Regions from separate parts of the Homo sapiens genome. Here regions 2 and 3 are each linked to region 1. The links are contacts of gene promoters, found by promoter capture Hi-C in blood cells and fetal thymus (Javierre and others, 2016). All regions are on one chromosome and are shown on one strand. Each heading gives the region's core, a stretch centred on a gene start or on the middle of the fragment in contact. The rest is flanking DNA. Distances are from core to core; before and after follow the strand shown. Region 1 holds the start of SLC35B3 (solute carrier family 35 member B3). Region 2 holds the start of SMIM13 (small integral membrane protein 13). Region 3 holds the start of MAK (male germ cell associated kinase).

The links. Contacts are between HindIII fragments. The CHiCAGO score rates a contact against its expected background, and 5 or more counts as called.
Region 2: a contact is called between the fragment with the promoter of SMIM13 here and the fragment with the promoter of SLC35B3 in region 1, in 2 of 17 cell types (non-activated CD4 T cells and activated CD4 T cells). The highest score is 6.9, in non-activated CD4 T cells.
Region 3: a contact is called between the fragment with the promoter of MAK here and the fragment with the promoter of SLC35B3 in region 1, in 2 of 17 cell types (activated CD4 T cells and naive CD4 T cells). The highest score is 6.3, in activated CD4 T cells.

The regions. Positions count from the first base shown.
Region 1 is chr6:8,433,632-8,437,508 of GRCh38, forward strand. It overlaps SLC35B3 (solute carrier family 35 member B3), which reads right to left and starts at 1,914. Exons shown (of 10, transcript NM_001370479.2): 1 at 1,712-1,914. It overlaps LOC100506207 (a long non-coding RNA gene), which reads left to right and starts at 1,992. Exons shown (of 5, transcript NR_038980.1): 1 at 1,992-2,547. RefSeq lists enhancers at 1,542-1,681, 1,654-2,195, 1,692-1,751, 1,952-2,121, 2,062-2,141 and 1 more. The HindIII fragment of the contact is 10,856 bases long and covers 1-2,558 here.
Region 2 is chr6:11,092,179-11,096,055 of GRCh38, forward strand. SMIM13 (small integral membrane protein 13) reads left to right here and starts at 1,656. Exons shown (of 2, transcript NM_001135575.2): 1 at 1,656-2,211. The coding sequence starts at 2,136. RefSeq lists enhancers at 1,263-1,803, 1,346-1,555, 1,804-2,345, 2,226-2,345 and a silencer at 1,816-2,125. The HindIII fragment of the contact is 2,504 bases long and covers 1,019-3,522 here.
Region 3 is chr6:10,836,311-10,840,187 of GRCh38, forward strand. MAK (male germ cell associated kinase) reads right to left here and starts at 2,229. Exons shown (of 15, transcript NM_001242957.3): 1 at 2,193-2,229. RefSeq lists a silencer at 2,292-2,421 and enhancers at 2,642-2,701, 2,752-2,911. The HindIII fragment of the contact is 3,144 bases long and covers 1,062-3,877 here.

The DNA of each region.
Region 1 (3,877 bases), core at 664-3,163:
TGCCAAAATACCGACATTGCTACTGAAACTCCCCACAAAACATTTGAAATGAACATGAAAATAAATTTGTTTCCTCTGCCTGAGGCATCAGTCTCATAAAACTTGCCCACCAAAGCCTTGCATTTAGAATGCTGTTTTATTAATAAGAACATCACTGGTGAGAAAGTGTGACTGATAAAGACCTCTGATACCTAATAACTGTGATCATTGGGGAATGTCTGCCATATCCCTTCCACTTCAAACATTAATGACTGATACTAACCATCATCTAAAAAAAAAAATGGGCCAAACTCCTTGTGATGCAAGGAGCAAAAATGAAGCATGGAATTAAAATTAGTTTTCAGACTAAATGATCAACATTGTGCTTTGCTTTTGAAGCTCACAGTAATCAGTGAAACTAAAATATATATATATATATTTTAAAAATCACAGGTGTGTATAATTGCCTGAGGCCTCTTCCTAAATTCAACACAGATATTCAACTTCAACTGCTAAAATGGAATAAAAAGGTAGCATTTCCGGCATACAATGTATATTTAAAAATTAAAATTAGTGATAATGTTGAGTTACAATGACCTATTGAAGTCACAATTATTTCAGTTTATTTTTGAGTTTTCCGACCTGAAGGACAAAAGTCCCACACCAAAAAAAGGTAGAATATGAAAAAAAAGTCATTACGGTGTCATTAACCTGAAAAAACGTGATTTTAACTATACTTTGCCACACTCAACGTTACAAATAAAAGAATCTTACCATGCCATTATGCCTTGATTAACTGCGCTCCGGAATCAATCATGGCCTATGGTGTACGATTATAAAACAGAAAAAACAAAGTTCCATCTCATTTCTTTGTACACACATCATTACACAAAGGTGGAGAAACCCTGTGCTAATGTTTGAAGACTATTCTTTTTTTTTTCCAAGAGAAAAAGTTAACACTAGGACTTTATATATTAAGTAATTAAGTAAAAATAACGCTGTCTAAATTATTTTGAAATGCTGCCTCTCTTCCAAGTTCCAAACTATCTCAATTCACTTAGAAAAACGTTTAATCAAAAAACAATTCTAGGCTTCTGATATCCTAATGTAGAAAAAATGCAGATACTCAACACTTAAGATTTTGTTAGCGCACCAAATCATTCCATCTTTTACTTTCAATATTCCTTAAATAATAAAAAGACGGGAGAGATAATTCAGTTGCAAAGACTGGAGGAAACTTGCAGAACTTCTAGTGGAAGTTTATGCCATAAACTTAATAGCCCAGCCAGAACAATCACATTCTACTGCAAGCCAAATGGAGAAAAGAGTACCTTGGAGTGCCCCTATTTAATAAACACGGAACGAGGAAACAGTTAACTGTAAATACAGTCTAGAGGTATCCAGGTGACTGACAGTTCTCCAGAGACCCCGAGAACAGCGTAAAAGACCCCTTGAGGTCACCTCACCCCTGCGAGTCCACGGATTGGGACCTGAGGGAGTTCTCGCCAGCCCGAGGGCGAAAAACGGGCGAGGAGGAACAGATGCTCCTCCCTGGAAACCGCCCGGCCGGTTTCCGCTCTTTCAAAAAAGGGAATCACCCGTTTCTTCCATCCCGACCTCATCCATTCCTCGAACGCTCCTTCTGGATGAGGAAGATGGGCAGTGTCAAGGTTTTCTGGAGGAGAGGAGATCTGGGTCCCAAACACAGGAAAGGCCCCGAAGGCACGCGTACCCCAAGGCCGGTATGTCACCCGGAAGGGTGACGGCAGCCTGCGTGGCGTCTGAGCTAGACGGAGCATCTCCCCCTCCCCTGGTCCGTCGCCATCACCTCCTCTTCCTCCTCCTCCTCGCCCACTCCTGCACTTTCCACCGCGGCGGTCGCCTCCCCGGAAAGCACTCTCAACTCCGGCGCCCGCAGGCCACTTCCGCCTATGTGTCCCTGCGCGCGTGCGCAGACGCGTGGCCCCGCCTCCCGACAGGCCTGTGTGGCCGGTGGCGGGCGGGCCGTTACCTCCCGCGCATGCTCTATGGGGTAGAGACGCTAGGCCGGCACTGCCTAGGTGGGCCGGGCGGTGCGAGGGTCGCCTTTCAGCCTTTACCTCTACCCACTGAAATGGAGTAGGTCGGTGAGCGCCGATCTGCTGGAGAATCTCATTATCCCATCGGCGCTCTGCCTGCTCCTGGCCTCCAAGCCTCTGAAGCCCCTCGGGTTTCAGCTGCCGGCTACCCTCGAGCCCGTGGTGCCCACGAGAGAGGCGACTTTACGTCAGCGGCCCTGGGCTGAGATTTGAGAACGCGACCAAGTGGAGAATGTTGGAGCCAGATTTTAAAATCCTTGTCTTCCTTCTGCGTGCTACTTGATCTAAATGAGATACGGCAAAGTCACAGAACCTGTTTTTATGTTTTTGCCTGATTCATACGGGCTTCTCCGGTGAAGATGGGCCTGAAGTAACGCTTGGGTTGCTTCTGACGTTATAACTCATCCTGTAGCTGCAGCAACCGTGGTCCTTGCAACCTCATAAAAATGTTGCCAGCATTGTTTCGATAGTGCTGCTTAATTCTTGGAAGGTAAATCTCAAAGCTTGAGGACCAGCCATCAAAACTTTTGTAAAAGGTTTTCCCCGCGTTTAGGGCCTCATCCATCACCACTGAGATGTAATAACGTAAAAACCAAGACGGTTTGGGGATGAGCTGTTTTCAGAGAATAATTAAGGAAAATATTACTGTAACGAAGATGGACAATTTTTGAAAGCATGCCTTGAATACCAGAAAGGGATGAATTGGATTAATATGTATGTTAGAATCCAGTCAGTTATGGACAACTTTTAAAATTTTACAGGCACTCTTCAGAAAGGGTAGCATTTGTGTCTTGTATTGGGATCGAGGGTTTGTAAGAAAGCAAGGCACCTACTTTGGTGGTGAGAAAAAAAGGTCTGGGTAGACATTTTCGTTTAATACTTGCCAACGTTGTTAGGCTGGTGTTAGCAACACTTAGGAATGTTGGAATTAAGGCTTAGAGAACTTAAATTTCCTAAAGAGATAGTAAATGACAAAACCTTTCAGTGATGCCATATCGTCACTGTATAATGTGAATTTAGTACTACTGTTAGCCATTTATATGGTGGTTATTTATCAAGTATTTATTAAATGGGCATATGTATAGCTCATATCGTAAACTATGCGTATGAGCTCCCTGTCCTGAAGAAATTAGGGGTTTCCATGAGAAAGTAAATGGCAGTATAAAACAACTTAAGGTACAAGAGGTGTTACAAGGTACCATCTGCTCATGCCTGGACAATTGCAGTAGCCGTGAGCATAGCTTTCTGCATTCCCTTTATTTCTCTACATAGTTGCATTCAGCAGCTGGAGTGATCCCATTAGAACCTGAATATGCCACTCCTCTGTGCAGAACCTTTTAGCGGTTTACCATTTTACTCAGATTAAAGTTCAAAATTCTTACCCTGACTTTTAAGACTGAACTTATTCTTGATGGATCACATCCAAGCTACACTTCAGAGCTTTTCTAATTGCCCCCAAGCACAGCAAGCATCAGTGCTTTGTAGCTGTTGTTCCTTCTGCATGGAACACTGCCCTCTCAGATGTCCACAGAGCTTGCTTCCTCATTTTTTTCCAGTCACTGCTCAAATGTCACCTGGCTCTTCTCTGACTACCATGTCAGTGAAATATTTTTACATGTCAAATGTGAAATGTAGGAGAGACTATCTGGAGTAGTACTTATTATAGAGTAGGTGTTTAATAAATATCGACTCTCTTACAATACTTCCCATTTACTCCTGTGATAACCACGTGGTAAACAAAATTAAAGACTTGCAGCTATGAATTGTTTTTTATTGACTGATTGACTGATTGAGGCAGAGGCTCACTCTGTCGCTCAGGC
Region 2 (3,877 bases), core at 406-2,905, 2.7 Mb after region 1:
CACTTTGTCTTATTCACTGCTGTATCCCCAGCACTTAGAACAGTGCCTGGCCCCTATAGGTATTCCAATATATGTGAATCAAAGAGAAAAAGGTCCTTTAAAATAAATTATTTTAGTTCTTCCGATGGCTGTTTTCTTTTCTTTTCTTTTTTTTTTTTTTTTTGATAAGAGTCTCTCTGTTGCCCAAGCTGGAGTGCAGTGGTGTGATCTCGGCACACTGCAACCTTGGCCTCCTGGGTTCAAGCGATTCTCCTGCCTCAGCCTCCTGAGTAGCTGGAATTACAGGCGCCCACCACTACCCCCGGCTAATTTTTGTATTTTTAGTAGAGACAGGGTTTCACCATGTTGGCCAGGCTGGTCTCGAACTCCTGACTTCAGGTGATCTGCTCGCCTTAGCCTCCCAAAGTGCTGGGATTACAGGCGTGAGCCACCTCGCCTAGCCCTGACGCGTATTTTCAACTGGCTTTTAATAAAATGTGTTTTAATTATGCAACATAATTGAACCACCCATGAAAAAAGCACACACTGATTTTTTGTAAATATATCTTAATTGCACTGGGTTCATTCTCTTCACAGGAATCTATATTAAATCTGTTGCAAAGCAAGTAATTATCCTTTAATGTATTTTTATACATGGTATTTGTTCCTAATGTTGCTTCTTAGGGAATACAGTTCACATAGTAGGGCAGCTGGGTATGGCAGGATACATTTATTAAATCAAGGGATTGCTGCTTAGAACTTTTGTGTTTGTTTTTGGAGACAGAAGACAGGAAACTGTAATTTTTAGAAGAGTAAAAAGGTATCTCAGGGAGCAAAAGAATCACAGGAAAACTCGAAGGCTCTGATTCCTTCTAAAAGAGGGACACATTTACCCTCTATTCTTCTGGGGGCACCTCTTTAACAAATGAATGTAATCTGGCGGAAGTGGGGAGTTTCAATTTTGGGTGGAGATACAGTAGTTGAGATTACTACAGTGTCTTGTTTCGTAGAGGTGTAAGCCAGTGCGGCAAAATCTCCAAGCTTGGTCTCAAGGAGGCAGCTGGGTCTAACTTACAACTCAGGCAGGTGATTTGAGGGCAGTGCAGCTGTCCTTAAGTCACCCGCGGGCCATTTCTGAAATGCTTTACTTACGAAAAGATAGAACATAACATCTGTTGCAGGGGGAAAATGAGATTTCGTGTCCTGACCCGCGTCTGCGGCAGGGACCTGAGTTCTTCCTCCAAGTCCCAAATAGCCAACCTTCGCCCCCGGCAACAGGGCTAGGTGCACGAGCAACCAGTTTTTCAGGCAGCCGCCTCCTCTTTCCTCTCTCGCCGTACTTCATCGATTACGGCTAGAAACAAAACGACTTTGTATACGGAGTAATGGTTGAAATCTCACTGGCGCCTCAGCAGGACGGGCAGCCAGATCCGCGGCTTTGGAGAAGGCCAGCCCACGGTCGTCCGACTGAGGCGACTTGAGCAAGACCAAAGGCAGAGCCGCCCGAGAATGAAAGCAGCGAAGCCCGAGTGGCGGTGCATTCTGGGAGTTGTAGTCCCTGCGAGACAACGCCGTCCCGACTCCACCAGGCTCTGCACTCCATCTCCCAGCCGACCCCGCGCCGCGGAGGAGGCGAGCTTGGTGATGAGCTGCCCCAGCGGTAGGGGGCCTGGGGCGGAGAAGCCGCTACAGCCGCGGCCGGGCGACGCTGACATCTGGCATCCCTGGGGTCTCAGAGACACGGGTGGACAGCGACGAGGGCCTTGTGGCCGCCGTGTGTACCCGTGCTTACCCTCTGTCCTCCCTACAGGCGCGCGGCGTCCGCCATGGAAGCGCATCCGACCGCTGGGGTCTCTGGGTGCCGCGGCCTCGGCTCTCCGGGGCGATGAGGGACTAGAGGCGCCCTGAGGCCCGCCTGCCTCCCGCGCTCTGGCCACCCCGGCGGGAAAAGGATCGGGCGGGCGGGCGGTCCCACAGTGCCCGCCTTTGCGCCGCCCCACCCCCTGGGGGCGCTGCCGAGGGGGCGCCAGCCGCCCATGCCGCCCCGGCGCCCAGCCGCGCCTGGCGCCCGCCGCTGAAGCGCAGGACGCGCCGCCGCCCGCGCTCACCGCCGTCCGCGCCAGCCGCCCCGAGCCGACTGCCCTTCTGCCCCCAAGATGTGGCACAGCGTCGGGCTGACTCTGCTTGTGTTCGTGGCCACGCTGCTGATCGTCCTGCTGCTGATGGTGTGCGGTGAGTGGGGGCGGTAGCCGCGAGGCAGTTCCACACGCCGGGTCGCTGATCTGCTGGGGTTTTTTTTGTTGTTTGTTTTTTTGAAAAAAACAAAAGGGCGTGGACGGACAATTGTCTTAAAATCAACTGTTGTCCCTTAGCCTCTAGGGCTGAGCGCAGAGGTGGGCCCTTTACTCATGGCCGGCCCTCGGGCATCCTGGGGAGGGAAAGGACAGGCTCCAGGGCTTCCTGCCTCTGAGTGAAACTCAGCCTTGCTTCACCGGCAGCGTCTGCTCTTTCATTCTCACCACAGGCTGCCCAGATTGTAACCTTGGCCTGCATTCGAAGGTGAAGTGATTGATTGGTCCTTTTTCATTTGCACAGATTCTGACCTTAATAATGAGAGGTGTCACCTTCGTTTCATCAGCGAGTGGGGTAGAGTTGGGTTTTCAGCACGCGTGAAATTGTTTACTTAGAGTTCAGCCTTAAACTCAATTCCAAGCAGAGATGTGGAGACCAGGCAGAGCTTAGAAACACCGGCTATATTAAACTTGCAGGGTCGGGTAACCTAACTCTCAGTTCTATAATAATGGTGCTATTTCGAATGCTGTGCGTATTTTCCTTCTTGGAATGAGAGGACGTTCAACTTTTTTCTTCAAATAATGGTAGCCCAATTTTAGATCTTTTTGATTTCTTTGTACATGTATAGTAGCTGATAACCACAGGTCTCTTAGCAAAGTGGCTAAGCAATTGTGAAAATCTAAAAAGTACGTAGAACACGTGTCAGTGAGTTTACACATATTTATAAGACTGAAGTATGGGTTCAGGTTGATGTAATAATGGGTCAGAATTCATACAGATACTATAGGGCTTGTTCATTACACGATAAATGTACAAATTAATACTTAGTGACGCTGTGGAATATATGTGTGCACTTGTGCATATGCATGTGTATGTATTTATAAACTTATATGTTTATTTTATTTTTTGAGATGGAGTCTCGCTCTTGTTGCCCAGGCAGGAGTGCAATGCAGTGGCCTGATCTTGGCCCACTGCAACCTCTGCCTCCTGGGTTTAAGTGATTCTCCTGCCTCAGACTCTCGAGTAGCTGTAGCCGGGATTACAGGTGCCCGCCACCATGCCCAGCTAATTTTTGTATTTTTAGTAGAGATGGGGTTTAACCGTGTTGGTCAGGCTGGTCTTGAACTCCTGACCTCATGTGATCTACCCGCCTTGGCCTCCCAAAGTGCTGGGATTACAGGCATGAGTCACTGCATCCGGCCTTGTATGTATGTTTAAAATTTGTTGTGCTTTTCTGTAACACCAGGTTAAAGCTTCTAATTTACAGCCTTTCTTTTCTGATGAGATAAAGCAATTGAATAACCTTTCTCAATTTTCTGCTTGTGATATCAACAAGCAGAAGAATATTAGAATATTGAACTAATTGTAGATGTTTAAGGTTCTTGAAGTAAGGAAAACAAAATCCTTGTGATATGTTTGGATGTGGGGAAGGAGGGAAAGCATTTATTACCCTTTCTAGTTTGAAAATGCGAGCTACCTGGACATGGGAATGAATGTGACACGTAGACCCTACCATACCTTCACTAGGATATTTGCCAAATTTACCTTTATGGCTTCAGAAATCCAAATTGCTCTCTCATCTCTAAACAGCTGTTTGATGGTTTAA
Region 3 (3,877 bases), core at 979-3,478, 2.4 Mb after region 1:
AAGAAAAAACTTTGGAAAGGCTTCTTTTGAACTACATTAATTACAAAATCAACAGCTGCCCAGGGTGAGACGCTGATCATTGCAACTGTTCCTTCTATCCCCTGAACATACAATTGTCTAATGTAGAGACATAGACATCAAGGTAAAGCTTTTAAAAAATCATTATTCCATGTCCCTGCTCCCTGATAGCACATAAGCAACTACTTTTATCAATGTGGCATAGCAACTACTGATTACTAATCAAAAAGCAGTCTATGTTCCTTAAACACAGGCTTCCCATGGTTCTCCAGTTCACGCACAATAATATTTCTCTACAAGTTACATATATTCTTCTCTGTTGACCTATGGAAAACTAATCTACAAAATAGGAATATATTAACACAGTTTCTTATGTACATGAATATATATAGATATGATACATATGCAACAAAAAACCCAAGTAAATATAACTATCATCCTCAATTTAACAGAATTGTTAAAAACTTGGAATTTTCTACAATCAAGCTATAACATTTATTGACCTTCCTATGGGTTAAAGAAAAAGATGCTTATTTAGAGGCTTAATTATAGACCTACACAAAAATAAATACCCTTATAATTTATCTCTCATTCTAGTTTTCAACTTTTTAATCTAAGTTCATAATTACCGTTTCTCTAAGTGCACAATTGTTGTAAATATAGCCTTTACTCTCAACAGCTTTTGCCAGCTAATAAGAGATTCAGATAGGATTAAAGAAGATTAGCAAAGAGGGCAAATGAAGGGTAAAACAAGCGTCTGCCAAAAACTGAAGAGATAAGGCTTGGATGTCTTCAACGTGGCTTTCTAGAACATATTATGTCACTCCGAGGCTGGCTTAACGCTTCTAATACACAACAAAAGAGTAATTAACGTTTTAAAAGTCACCAAACTCTTTAAAAAGCAACGCAGGAAAAAAAGATCCCAAACTAACCAAGTCGAAGTTTTACAGAAATTAAATGAGCTATTACAATGGGAAAACAAAGACTGTATCTTAAAATATAAAAGCACAGTTCTCTGTGCTCATATTCACAAATTATTTCAAAGCTTATACACAAAAAAAGTCCACCCCGACGAAGAGATTAAACGTCCTGCCCGGTGCCTGCAGTGGAAGCAGGCGGTGGCGCGGTTGGGGGAACTTTCTCCCTCCCGGTCAAGCCTCGGGAATTGAAGGGCCGGGGAGGCGGGGCCCGATCGAAAAGCTGGAAAGTCACTTTTGTTTTCACCATTATTTCACTTAATGGGTTGTGTTTCTGAATAAATAAAGTCAGATAACTTTGGCTTCCCTCTTTGAGAATTCCGTTATCATTAGAACAAATGTCTGTTTCTTTTAAACGATTATCTAACCACATTTGCATACAGCTCTTTCCTTGTAGGATTGAGATTACTAACCACTAAAAACCAGTTTTATTGCTCTCGACACCGCACTCTCGACCTGTCCCTAAATTAAAACGGATTACTTGCAGAAAAGGGACAGTTTTCGTCACACACTTTCTGATCCGACTCTGCAAACCAGGGCTCTTAAAAGGCTCCAGGGACCGCGTGGTGGAAGGAGGGGGCGTCCCCGGGCGCCGGGAGTCCGGCGCCGTTGGGGGGGACGGGGGTGTGCGGAATTCCACTTTCACCTGAGCGTCCTTTGGGATGCACCAGCGAGGGCTGGAGTCGGACCTAATTCCTGTTTTTCTCCCTCCTTTTAGATTTTGCAACAGTTCTGAACTCAGTTCCGCTGCCTCCCTGAGACCCAATCCTGCCTCTCTGTCCTAAAAACAGTTTCCACCGCCAGCCCAAGCAGCAGGGGAGCAGAGGTGGGAGATCCCGGAGGAGAGTTTAGGGGCGGGGGTCTCAGGCTAAGGGACGCCCGGCCGTCATCCTCCCACGCCAGGCCGGCCCCCGCGGTCCAGGAGGCGGGAAAGTGGTCAAGAGGTCTGGGAGACACCGACCGCCTTCCCTCGGGCTGACCACTCCCGCCCGCTCCGCCCCTCCGGGGACCCTCCTCCCTCCAGTCCTTCCCCTACCGGCGTCAGGGACCGGTCTCCGGGCGGAGATTGGCCCTGGTAGCACAGGGCGCCGAGGGGACATGCCCGGCCAGCCTCGCAGGTCGGGCTCCGGCTGGGTCGGACAGAGGGTGGTGGCCCTGCAGCCCGCTGGGGATTACCTGTCCGCGCCTGCTGCTTACCTCGTTCGCTCCCTTGTGAAGCTCCGGCGTCTTGTGTGTTTCATCTCCTAGGAAACGGCGGGGGCAGCAGGCGGGCCTACGGCCGGCCCAGAGAGGGCGTGGCCTCGCGGGAAATCCCCGCCAATTCCCGCAGGCCCCGCCTTCCCCGGGGCGGGGCTTCATGGAGCCGGGGGACTGTCGGCTGAGCTGCAGCAAGTGTGCCATTTAGACTTGGGGTTTAGGGGAGTTGATTACCTTTTCAGTCAGGTCTTTGTCAGAAGTTGGTTTGTTTGCCCTTTATTTTGTTTTGGTTTTGTTCCGATTCATTCTACAAAGTCTTGATTAATTAAAATATGGTTCCCAGACCGGGCAGAGCAAGAGAAGGAAGTCTGTTTGCCTCATACTTGCACTTGTTTACTTGTGCCTGGGGAAAAACTGTTCTTGTATGCAGTTCCTTAAATTGGTCAATTCCTTGGGTATGTATTACCTCTTGAGCTGCCCTTCTAAGTTTGTTTCCATTTATTCATTCAGAGAACCTGCCTAGTATCAGCCACAGAGTTAGATAGTGGTAATTCCAAGAAAAATGACTGAATGTGTGAATAAATGGGTAAATTGTAACTAGTCTAGAATTTAGAGAGGAAGGCACACTTGTGTTACTGCAAATAGTTCAGATTGGCTGGCAAAAAGGGTCTACGAAACAGAAACATAAGTGATGAAGCAGTGGTGCGGCAAGTTAGTAATTATTAGGTGTCAGGATGTGGGCTTGGGACCAAGAATAGCGCCAAGGTAGACACGACAGACATGCCTGTGGCCCTCACAGCTTAAAGTGAAGTAGGCTTTCACGCGTATGTTTATGGCAGCACAATTCACAATTGCAAAGATGTGGAACCAATCTAAGTGCCCATTGACTAATGAGTGGATAAAGAAAATGTGGTATATATACACCATAGGCTGCTACTCAGTCACAAAAAAAGAATGAAATAATGTCTTTTGCAACAACTTGGAAGAGTGGGAGGTCCTTATTCTACGCAAAGTAATACAGGCGTGGAAAACCAAAAACTGTATGTTCTCACTTATAAGCAAAAGCCAAGCTATGAGTATGCAAAGGCATACACAGTGAAATAATGGACTTTGGAGACTCAGAAAGGGGAGGATGGGAGAGAGCCTAGGGATAAAAAAAACTATGCACTAGGTACCATATACACTACTCAGATGATGGGTGCACTAAAATCTCAGAATTCACCACTATATAATTCATCTATGTAACAAAAAACCACTTGTACCCCAAGAGCTATTGAAATAAACATTTAAAAACAGACGGGGCTCAGTGGCTCATGCCTGTAATCCCAGCACTTTGGGAGGCCCAGGTGAGTGGCTCACCTGAGGTCAGGAGTTCAAGACCAGCCTGGCCAACATGGTGAAACCCCATCTCTACTAAAAATACAAAAAATATCTGGGTGTGGTGGCACATGCCTGTAATCCCAGCTACTCGGGAGGCTGAGGCAGGAGAATCACTTGAACCCAGGAGGCAGAGGTTGCAGTGAGCGGAGAACGTGCCACTGCACTCCAGCCTGGGTGACTGAGCAAGACTCTGTCTCAAAATAATAATAATAATAAATGGCCAGGCGCGGTGGCTCATGCCTGTAATCCCAGCACTTTGGGAGGCCGAGGTGGGCGGATCACCTGAGGTCGGGAGTTTGAGACCA